3 separate regions of the Homo sapiens genome follow, and all the other regions are linked to region 3. Evidence: promoter capture Hi-C in 16 types of primary human blood cells and fetal thymus (Javierre and others, 2016). All regions are on one chromosome and are shown on one strand. The core of a region is centred on a gene start or on the middle of the fragment in contact, and the rest is flanking DNA. Distances in the headings are between cores, read along the strand shown.

Evidence for each region. Contacts are between HindIII fragments. The CHiCAGO score rates a contact against its expected background, and 5 or more counts as called.
Region 1: a contact is called between a fragment that was not itself captured here and the fragment with the promoter of B3GNT4 in region 3, in 4 of 17 cell types (erythroblasts, megakaryocytes, M1 macrophages and 1 more). The highest score is 5.9, in erythroblasts.
Region 2: the fragment with the promoter of BCL7A here is called in contact with the fragment with the promoter of B3GNT4 in region 3 in 1 of 17 cell types (endothelial precursors); the score reaches 5.1 in endothelial precursors.

The regions. Positions count from the first base shown.
Region 1 is chr12:122,000,772-122,004,334 of GRCh38, forward strand. It overlaps CFAP251 (cilia and flagella associated protein 251), which reads left to right. Exons shown (of 22, transcript NM_144668.6): 21 at 726-827; 22 at 2,881-3,148. The coding sequence ends at 2,993. All of the region lies in intron 1 of LOC124903038 (a long non-coding RNA gene), which reads right to left. Among named protein-coding and RNA genes, the nearest start is that of BCL7A, 19 kb to the right of the region's middle. The HindIII fragment of the contact is 6,065 bases long and covers 1-3,563 here.
Region 2 is chr12:122,019,811-122,023,308 of GRCh38, forward strand. BCL7A (BAF chromatin remodeling complex subunit BCL7A) reads left to right here and starts at 2,074. Exons shown (of 6, transcript NM_001024808.3): 1 at 2,074-2,373. The coding sequence starts at 2,282. RefSeq lists silencers at 1,953-2,032, 2,163-2,482, 2,633-2,792 and an enhancer at 2,627-3,442. The HindIII fragment of the contact is 6,381 bases long and covers 1-3,498 here.
Region 3 is chr12:122,201,511-122,205,208 of GRCh38, forward strand. B3GNT4 (UDP-GlcNAc:betaGal beta-1,3-N-acetylglucosaminyltransferase 4) reads left to right here and starts at 2,199. Exons shown (of 3, transcript NM_030765.4): 1 at 2,199-2,291; 2 at 3,012-3,174. The coding sequence starts at 3,109. It overlaps LRRC43 (leucine rich repeat containing 43), which reads left to right. Exons shown (of 12, transcript NM_001098519.2): 12 at 1,805-1,961. The coding sequence ends at 1,932. RefSeq lists a silencer at 1,884-2,513. The HindIII fragment of the contact is 10,141 bases long and covers 1-3,698 here.

The sequences.
Region 1 (3,563 bases), core at 60-2,559, 200 kb before region 3:
CCCCGCAGCATGCTGTCCTATTTCTCTATGCCAGCCCCATGTATGTTCCTTGCCTGGAGGACCCTGTTTAACACCATTAGGAAGCATATGTGACAGTACCATGGGACTCTAGATCATTTTTGTGTCTAAAGAAAAGGGGCTGGGCGCAGTGGCTCACACCTGTAATCCCAGCAGTTTCAGAGGCTGAGGCAGGAAGATCACTTGAGCCCAGGAGTTCGAGACCAGCCTGGCCCAACATAGCAAGACTTCATCTCCACCAGAAAAGTTTTTATTGTTTTTGTTGCTTTTTTTTTTTTTTTTTTTGAGACAGAGTCTCGCTCTGTTGCCCAGGCTGAACTGCAGTGGCACGATCTCAGTTCACTGCAACCTCCAACTCCAGGGTTCAAGCAATTCTCCTGTCTCAGCCTCCCGAGTAGCTGGGATTACAGGCCGCGCCACCACACCCGGCTAATTTTTGTATTTTTAGTAGAGATGGGGTTTCACCATGTTGGCCAGGCTGGTCTCGAACTCCTGACCTCAAGTGATACGCCCACCTTGGCCTCTGCAAGTGCTGGGATTACAGGCATGAGCCACCACGCCCAGCCTAAATTTTTTTTTCAATTGAGTAAAAGAAAAAAAAATAGTGGGATAATTCTCTTTAAGACCTCTGAATAATAACGCTAAGCCCTGACAGTATGCTTAGCCTCAAGAGTTAAACAATCACCTTCTCACTCTTTGACACACAGGTGAGCATATGACGGAGGAGGAGATGTTGGATTGCTTTGCTTCACTGTTTGGCCTGAATCCCGAGGGATGGAAATCCGAGCCTGCAACCTGCTCCGTCAAAGGTACCCCAGCTGGCTTTGTCTGGGCATGTAGCTGTGGCTCACTGATTTGTTGTAGACTTCAGTACATTTATTTCTCCTGATCGGTGCAAGCCACTCTCCCTAAGACTGCACATAACAAAGCATGTCTGTTGGGAATCCCACATGAATAAGTTATGAAAAGAACAGTGAGTGGTGGCTTTTGTTCCCGCGCTCTGTCCGTCCTTTTGTTTCTTCTGGGCTTATTTTCCCTTTGTTCCACTGACCTGTCATCTTGCCGGCTTGGGTGGGTGAATATTGGCCACCCGTAGAGGATCCAGTTTGACAGCTGTTTCAGGAGAATAGGTATGTAAAGAGAGACTTGGGGGCCAGGCACCATGGCTCACGCCTGTAATTCCAGCACTTTGGGAGGCCAAGGCAGGAGAATCGCTTGAGGTTCAGAATTTGAGACTGGCCTGGGCAACATAGCGAGATCCCATCTCTACAAAAAAAAAACCAGGCTGGGCGCAGTGGCTCACGCCTGTAATCCCAATGCTTTGGGAGGCCGAGGAGGGTGGATCACATGAGGTCAGGAGTTCAAGACCAGCCTGACCAACATGGTGAAATCCCATCTCTACTAAAAATACGAAAATTAGCCAAGCATGGTGGCACACACCTGTAATCCCAGTTACTTGGGAGGCTGGGGCAGGAGAATCGCTTGAATCCAGGAGGTGGAGGTTGCAGTGAGCCGAGATCACACCATTGCACTCTAGCCTGGGTGACAAGAGCAAAACTCCGTCTCTAAATTAATTAATTAATTAAAGCAAAACAAAACAATTAGCTGGGCATAGCGGTGTATGCTTTTAGTCCCAGCTACTCAGGAGGCTTAAGTGGGAGGATGACTTGGGCCCAGGTGTTCACGGCTGCGGTGAGTGAGGATTGTGCCACTGTACTCCAGCCTGGGCAACAGAGTGAGAGCCTGTCTCAATTAAAAAAGAGAGAGAGAGAGAGAAAGATTTGGAGAAGGAGAGAGCATCAACTTGGTGGGCAGTACAAGCCCAGCTACAAGCTGCCAAAACTTTCAGGTTTTTAAAGATCATCCTCCTGTCCCTTCCTGCTATAGCCTAAGTATTTTTCACCTTTTCGTGCACTGGACCTGAAGTTAGGGCCGTGACTTTCAGCTCAGGAGGAACCAATCTAAACGGCTCTTCTAGGCTCACTGGTACAGGAGCAACTCTGCTGACAAGCCCGGGGATGGTCAGATCCCACCACCATCACCAAGACTGAGGAGGGTGCAAAGACCCCTCACCCATTCCCCTTTTCCCTCTCCTTTTATTGTCCATTCCCCACATCAAATTAAACAAAGTCCCTGAACTCAGATAATTTCAGACTCCAGTAGCTAACAGGTCATTCCCAACCTGCAAGCTCTCCCTACCCCATTCCTTTATGTGCTTCAGATCTCAGAATGTACCTTTCCTGATTGTTATATATTTCTGCTGTGTTCCCAGGCATCTTGAAACAGAAAAATCAATCATACCATGTGGTTAAGGCTTTCCAGTAAGGTTTGCAGAGATTTGGTTAACAGCGTTCTGTTCCGTAAAGGAGAGATTTTTAAGCAATTTCCACCCAGAGTTTTTCAAGGAATCAAAGCCAAATCACAGCACAAAGCCCCTCTTGTTTTTGTTTAGTAGCATTTCCTTGTGTTTTTGGAAAATCCTCCTGAGTTAGAAACATAGTCATTGAGGCCAGATGCGGTAGCTGTAATCCCAGCGCTTTGGGAGTCTGAGGTGGGAGGATCACTTGAAGCCAGCAGTTTGAGATCAGCCTGGGTAACATAGCGAGACCCCATCTCTACAAAAAAATTTTAAAATAAGCTGGGCGTGGTGGCGTGTGCCTGTAGTCCCAGCTACTTGGGAGGCTGAGGTGGGAGGATCACTTGACCCCAGGAGTTCAAGGCTGCAGTGAGCTATGATCGTGTCACTGCACTCCAGCCTGGGCAACAGAGCAAGGCCCTGTCTCAAACCCCTCCCCTCACCCAAAAAAGAAAGAAACATAATCATCATGAAGGCATTTGGTGTTCTTTTCTTGTTTTGGCTAGGTTCAGAAATTTGCCTTGAAGAAGAACTTCCAGACGAAATCACTGCAGAAATATTCGCGACTGAAATTCTTGGCTTAACCATTTCAGAAGATTCCGGCCAGGATGGTCAGTGAAGTTACCAGGAATGTTTAAAGCACAAAGGACTTTGGGTGTGTGTGCATGCACATGTGTGTGTTTTCCATGAGGCACTGCTTTTTATGCATTTCCCTCCCCCCTCTCATCTTTAGAACATTTAGACATTAAAGCAAGTTTCTGGTGAGCAATGGAATTCACAAAGTTGGACATTCCACTGTTTCTGAAATAGAAAAGTGGGCGGAGGCGAGAAAAACCCTGGCAGCTGGATGTACATGGTGGCTGGATCTCTGGGTCTCTGGTGATGCTGCCTGGATGGGGTTTGCACGGGATATGGAGGGGGCGTGGTCTCAGGGGGCAGAGGGGTCCTCAGCCAGCAGCAGGCCTCCCTCGCGACACATGTGGTCCAGGGAAATGATGGTCCATGGCCTCATTCCCTTTCCCTGCAGGGCCACCTGGACCCTCCGCCCAGTGTGGCCCAGTGTGGATCACCCCTGCCTGTTGTGGGGCTGGGGTGGGGGTGCCGGGTGCGCCGGGCTCCTGAGAGTCCCAGATTGTGGCTTCTTATCAGCAAAACACCCAAGTGGTGGTGTGTGACCGTTATAAAGAGC
Region 2 (3,498 bases), core at 824-3,323, 180 kb before region 3:
GATAGACACATTTATCTGTTCCTCAGTCACTATTTGAATTCTGACATAATATTTTCCTATTTTAAATTTTAAGATACATTTTTTTAAAGTTTCATGTGGCCCAAAGCACATACCTATTGATCTCACATATCTCTGTGAGATCTGTTTTATGACCTGCTGTTGCATATTTTCCCAGAAAATTCTCGGAACGATTCTCTGAAGTCCTTCTTTCTCTTTCTCTTTTTTTTCTTTTTCTTTCTCTCTTTCTTTTTTTGTTTTGTTTTGTTTTATTTTGTTTTGTTTTGTTTTTTTGAGATTCAGTTTTGCTCTGTTGCCCAGGCTGGAGTGCAATGGCATGATCATTGCACCTCTGCCTCCCAGGTTCAAGCATTTTCCTGCCTCAGCCTCCCGCGTAGCTCAGATTACAGGCCTGCACCACCACGCCCAGCTAATTTTTGTATTTTTAGTAGAGACAGGGTTTCTCCATGTTGGCCAGGCTGGTCTCGAACTCCTGACCTCGTGATCTGCCCACTTCGGCCTCCAAAGTGCTGGGATTACAGGCATGAACCACCGCGCCCGGCCTTTTTTTTTTTTCTGAGACAGGGTCTCACTCTGTCTCCCAGGCTGGAGTGCAGTGGCTGGATCTCTGCTCACTGCAACCTCCGTCTCCCAGGTTCAAGCGAGTCTCCTGCCTCAGACTCCCGAGTAGCTGCGATTACAGGAGCCCACCACCGCGCCCGGCTAATTTTTGTATTTTTAGTAGAGACGGGGTTTCACCCACCATGTTGGCCAGGCTGGTATCGAACTCTTAACCTCAAGTGATCCACCCGCCTCGGCCTCCCAAAGTGCTGGTATTACAGGCATGAGCCACCGCGCCCGGCCAGTATTTGTTCTTTTCTTCATTTTTCACGTCAGGAGACTGCGTTTCAGAATAGTAAAAACAAATGCCTAGGAAAAGGCCTGCGGTCTCTCCATTTCCACAGTAGCGTGTTCCCCAAAGACCAAACCCTCAGGGGAAACGTCTAGAATGAGTAACAACTTAAGGCTGCAACCTTAAACTTTCCCAGGACTCAGTTTCCCCAGCTGTGAAATGGCTGCTGTCGGGCTGTCATCTCCAGGCCCGGGGCGCTGACATTTGGGCCACTCTCGGTCTCCCTCTTCATTCTGGGCGCGCATTAGCTCTGGTCCGGCCGGTTCCGCTGCAGCTGAACAGCAAGATGCGGCACCCAGGTTACCCTGATCATCGCAGATTTCTCCCCGGGGCTCTGTTCTGAGGCCTCAAAAGTGCTCCTTGTAGATGGGACCAGGGGTCATTTGGGCAGTAGCAGCGCCTGGTCTCAGTCTGGTACTGAAGTCAGGAATGGCTTAAGGTGAAATCGTGGTCCTCTGGTGAAGCTCAGCGAAGACCCCCTCGCCTTGTTTATGACAAGAGAACTTCTGGGGGCGGGAGGAAGAGTCCCTGTTACGATGCTGATCATCATTGAGCTTTTGCTGAGCAGAAAACTCTTTAGTACTCAAGGTCGAGAGTCTCTGGTGGTCTGCCTGGCACCAGGCACCTTCCTACAACCCTAGTTTTCCAAAAGGACAAAGCCTGGGGCAGGCGACGTCCTAGCTCGCATTTGAACAGGGCCGCGGGCCAGCAGAGATGCGCGATGCCCAACTCTTTCCAAGAGCACCTCGCGTCCCGAACCGGTGCCTTCAACTCGGAGAAGTCAAGAGACCCGCAAGAAACTTGCACGACTGCACCCGCCGCCGCGCTCTGGGGGCTGGGCAGGGGCAGCTGGGCTGGCTCCCGGGGAACGCGACCCCCCCGCGCCCCGCAGACCGGCTGTCTCCCATGGACCCCTCGGCACCTGCAGCCTCCGAGGAAGGGTCAGCGCGCGTGTCCGCACGCCCGCCCCCACCGCGCGCCCAGAGCCGGGGGTCGCCGTGCGCCCTTCGCCACCTCCCCAGGAGGGCGTCCGGGGCGTCCCCTCTGGGGGCGCAGGAGGCCCGGGGGCGCTGCCCGGTGGCCGCGGCGCCCGGAGGCCGCACTGCCGGCGGCGGCGGCGGCGCGGCTCCCCCTGCTCTGTGCAGCTGCCGCCCGGCGCTTGCGCACTGGGCCAGGCGCGCGGCGGCCCCGGGCTTTGTGTGTGTGTGTATGTGTGTGTGTGTGTGTGTGTGTGTGTGAGTGTGTGCGTGTGAGAGTGCGAGTGTCTGTGCGCGAGTGAGTGAGCGGCGGGCGGGCGCGAGTGTGGCCGCCGCGGAGCGCGAGCAGGACCCGGCGGGCGCGCTCCCCAGCCTCCGTCTCCCCGCCGGAACCATGTCGGGCAGGTCGGTTCGAGCCGAGACGAGGAGCCGGGCCAAAGATGATATCAAGAGGGTCATGGCGGCGATCGAGAAAGTGCGCAAATGGTAAGCGGAGGCGCCCGCCGCCAGCCGCCTCCCCGGCCGCCCCGAGCCCGAGCGCGGCTCCAGAGAGCCGCGGGGCGCAGCGCCCCGGCCGCCTGCCCCGGCCCAGCCCCGCCGCGGGCCCCGGGACTTGGCGAGGGCGGGCGGACGGGCGGGCGGCGCGCGAGCCGGGTCACCTGCGCCAGGCTGGGGCCGCGGCCGCTGCCCAGGTGCGCTCGCGCCTGTAGCCCACCTGGCGCGGCGGCCCGGAGGCGGCGGGCGCCGGGGCCAGGCGGTTGGAGCGGCGGGGCGGCCCCCGCCGCGGCGCTCGGCTCCCGGGAGGGGGGCTCGGGGCCGGCCCCAGAAGCCATTTCGTTTTGTGCAAGTCACATGAAAGCGGCTTCCCGCGCGCCGGGGCCGCGATGCCGGCGGCGGCGGGGAGAGCGCGAGCTCCATTGTGCAGGCTCCGAGCGGGCCGCCGCCGCCGTCTCCTCCCCGCGCACCCCGGCCCGCGCCCCGCCGCCCTCCGCCAGCCCCGGCCCGCCCGGCCGCCCGCTCCCGCCTCCCGGGCCCGGCGCCCTCGAGTCTGCGGAGTTTGCAGAGCGCGAGCCGTTTAAATTTAGCGCTTTGGGCTGCCTGGAGCGAGGGCTCTCGGCGACCAGGAAAGATGGGGGCGAGCGCTGGGAGCCAGCGGCCAGGGGCGCGGGGCGCCCACGTCCCACCCCGCTCTGCGCGGCGCCCCGGGCGGGGGGCTCGGGCCAGCCGATGTTTTTGGCCAGAAGCCGTTCGTCCTGGGCCGCGGCTGCCTCTCCACACCGGGAGCTCGTGTTTGTTTTGCGGAGGGAGCTGTTGTTTTTGTTCTCTGCACCGGGGAGAGGGGGACTTGGTGGCGGCCGCGCGTGGTTTTCGGGATCACATTAGCGTCCGCCCGGCGTGGCCCGGTCGACATTAAGGGGATCGAACCTTTCCGCGGCCTCGTCGGGGTCTGCTCGGAATCGGCCCCTGGGCCAGGCCCGAGGCGCAAGCAGATCGCCAGGTTGGGTCAGAGTTGTTGAAAACTCCCCGCTGCCTGATTTCAACTTTATTATTTTTTTCCCACGCCTTCACTGGGGTCCCGGAGGGAGAGGAGCCGCCGCAACGCTGGCTCTG
Region 3 (3,698 bases), core at 949-3,448:
CCTGTGTGGGTGGTGACCAGGGTGGGGAAGGCACCTGTGGTAGAGCCATAGCGGGGCAAGAGCTTGGAGCTGGGGCTGCCTGGGGCTCATCTGGTTCCGAGGTGTCTGCCTCCAGCTTCAGGCCATCGGCCCTTATTTGCTGTAAGAGGGGCCTGGGCTTGTCCTGTGGGGAGCTGGAGAAGCATCTGAAATGGGTGCGTCTCAGGTTTGAGGTTCAGAAAGAACAACCAACTGGGAGGGAGAGAAAGGAGACAGGGAGTGCCGTGGGAGGTGGCTGCAAAAAGCATGAGGCCCGATCATAGCAGAGCAACCCATCATACTGAAGCCGAAAAGTGGAAACAGGCCCAACATGGTGGCTCACGCCTGTAATCCCAGCACTTTGGCGTGCGGATCACCTGAGGTGAGGAGTTCGAGACCAGCCTAGCCAACATGGTGAAACCCCGTCTCTACTGAAAACACAAAAATTAGCCAGGTGCGGTGGTGGGTGCCTGTAATCCCAGCTACTCAGGAGACTGAGGCAGGAGAGTCGCTTGAACCTGGAAGGCAGAGGTGGCAGTGAGCTGAGATCGCGCCATTTCACGCCAGCCTGAAGAAGTAAACGTTGGAGGGCATATGCTGCTGGACTTCAAAACCCATGCCTATATGAACATGTGATTTGTGATACTTATCTGTGGGTTAAGATGGCCTTAAAAAGGTTTTTTTTTTTTTAATCTCTTTAATGTTTGGCTTAATTGAAGACAGCTGGATTCTTACAGCTACTTCTGCAGTCAACTGCTTGCAATATGTTGCTGTAATTGACGTGCACAAAGAAAATCCAACCTCAGGCCCATAATTGGAAAAGAGGGAGTATTTTAATAGACCTTAAAATAATATAATTTCTTTAATATTACACCAAATTTGACAAGTGGTAATTTCTTAAAGGTTGTTACAATGTGAAAACAATCTATATTGAATTTTTCATAATCAGATTAAAATTCATTAATCTAGTTTGCATTTTGAACGGATATTTTACCATGCAGTTTGTAACATGCATGAGTTACTTGTAAACTACAGGTTAACAGACTTATGCAGATATTCCAACAGTTGACACCTGTCACTATACATTTTCCAAAGATCACGTTCTTTACTATCACCACCCACATCATTAGAAAGGTCTTTGCGTATTGGAAAATTGGTAAATTCATGGTGGCAGATACAATGTTGTCTCATTTTTAGGGCAAATGTTATACATTTATTGAAATGCTTTCAGTTGTTTCCCCTGAAGTGCTATAATTACTTCATTTTTAAGAAAATATCTGCAGCTGGGCTCGGTAGTGTACGCCTGTGATCCTAGCACGTTGGGAGGCCTAGGCAGGCGGATCACTTGAGGTCAGGAGTTCGAGACCAGGCTGGCCAACATGGTGAAACCCCGTCTCTACTAAAACTACAAAAAATAGCCGGTCGTGGTGACAGGCGCCTGTAATCCCAGCTACTTGGAGGCTGACGCAGGAGAATCGCTTGAACCTGGGAGGCGGAGGTTGCAGTGAGCCGGGATCATGCCACCGCACTCCAGCCTGGGCGACGGAGCACGACACTGTCTCAAAGCAAAAAGCAGCCAGTCTTGCAACTCAAACAGCTGCGATTTATTAAATGATCTAATTAAATACAATTTAATTTTATTTCTTATTACTGTTAACACCCGAGGACCAAAACTGTGCTCCCGCTGGGACAGGGTCCAGGGCTTGCATATGGGATGGGTCAGGGCGGCCGAGAACGCCAGCCCATCCGTCTCCCGGGGCTCATGCTCGCACTTAAATTTTCTCAGAAAAGCCGAAAGCCGTGATTCCGATCTACGAAGGCGATTACCACCCTGAGCCCCTGACCGTAGAGGTGCAGATCCAGCTGAACCAGTGCCGCTCGGCGGAGGAGGCTCTGCGCATGTTCGCCGTGTAGGGCGTGGGCAGTAAAGGCTGTTCCCAGCACTCCCGCCTCCGCTTCTGTCCCGCCGCACGCGTCGGGGGGCGGGTGTGGCGCCGGCGTCCTGGGGAGGAGGAGCAGCCTCTGCCCGACCCGGCTCGTGCGGACCCCAGGACCGGGCGCGGGACGCGTGCGTCCAGCCTCCGGCGCTGCGGAGACCCGCGGCTGGGTCCGGGGAGGCCCCAAACCCGCCCCCGCCAGAACCCCGCCCCAAATTCCCACCTCCTCCAGAAGCCCCGCCCACTCCCGAGCCCCGAGAGCTCCGCGCACCTGGGCGCCATCCGCCCTGGCTCCGCTGCACGAGCTCCACGCCCGTACCCCGGCGTCACGCTCAGGTAGGTTGGGGGCCGGGACGCCGCTGCTGTGAGGGAGGCTGGGTCACCGTGCAGGGAGGGGCGTCGCCAGGGCGGCCGTGCCTTTGCACCCCGCGGCCCGCTCCCCGGTCCCCCAGGGTCCCCGCGAGGACGCCGGCCCCGCCCGGGTGCGGCGCGAGTCTGGCCTCGGCGGGCACGGCTCGGGGCCCACGGGCCGCTCGGCTTCGGTTCTCCAGGCTGGGGACAGAGGCTGGAGCCGGGCGCGGTAGACCCCGCCAGCCTGGGCCGCCCGCGCCCGACGCGCAGCGCTGCTGCCAACCCCGGCCCGGGGGTCCCCGCAGAGTGGGTCTCTGCTGCCGTCAGCCCTTCGGAGACTGTCGCGTTGAAAGAATGAACCAGAGTTCGCCCCCTGCCCGCGCCAGGGCGTTTTGGGTCACCGAGTCCTGTGGGGATCCGAGGCGGCTGCCGCCCAAGGCCGAGCGCAGCCTCAGGACCCGCGCCCCACCAGACGGGGTCGTGCGCTCCGCGGCGGGTGGAGAGCCGGGCTCTGGGGTCTCCGCGGCTCGGAGGGCGGCGGGGCGAGGCCGTGCGGCCAGCGCCTGGGGACGCCCGCGGCGGGACAGGGGCCACCCGGGCCGCGGCGCAGCCTGGGCTGAAACCTCCTGGGACGGAACCAAGCCACCTGCTGTGCGCCCTTCTCGGTGAATGGCACCGCCGCCCGCCCGGGCCTCTCGTCCACAGCCCGCGGTGCTCGCACACCTGAGACTCATCTCGCTTCGACCCCGCCGCCGCCGCCGCCCGGCATCCTGAGCACGGAGACAGTCTCCAGCTGCCGTTCATGCTTCCTCCCCAGCCTTCCGCAGCCCACCAGGGAAGGGGCGGTAGGAGTGGCCTTTTACCAAAGGTCAGATTCTTTCACCGCCTCTGCCAGACCCCCTTGTCCCCCACCCCCGCATAGATCTCCAGGGGGCTCAGAAAACTCTGGCCGGTGGCTCACGCCTGTAGTCCCAACGCTTTGGGAGGCCAAGGCGGGAGGATCGCTTGAGGCCAGGAGTTCCAGACCAGCCCAGGCAACAAAAGATACCACATCTCTACAAAAAATAAATTAGCCGGGCCCTGCACGCCTGTAGTCCCAGCTACTGGGGAGGCCGAGGCCGGAGGATCGCTTGAACCCAGGAGTTCCAGGCTGCAGTGAGCTATAATTGTGCCACTGCACTAGAGTCTGGGTGACAGAGACACTGTCTCAAAAAAAACCAACAAAACCCTTAGCTCTTTCACTAGCCGGGCTGGCCTCTTCCTACTGTAAACCTGCTGGGCCCCCGTCTCCCTTCTTTCTCCCCTCTCTCCTGCCCTGGAGCTGCCTGACTCTGCCCACGGCCTGCAGAGACCCCAGGTCTTCACGCAAGGTGCCATTCCTCACTCAGTTCT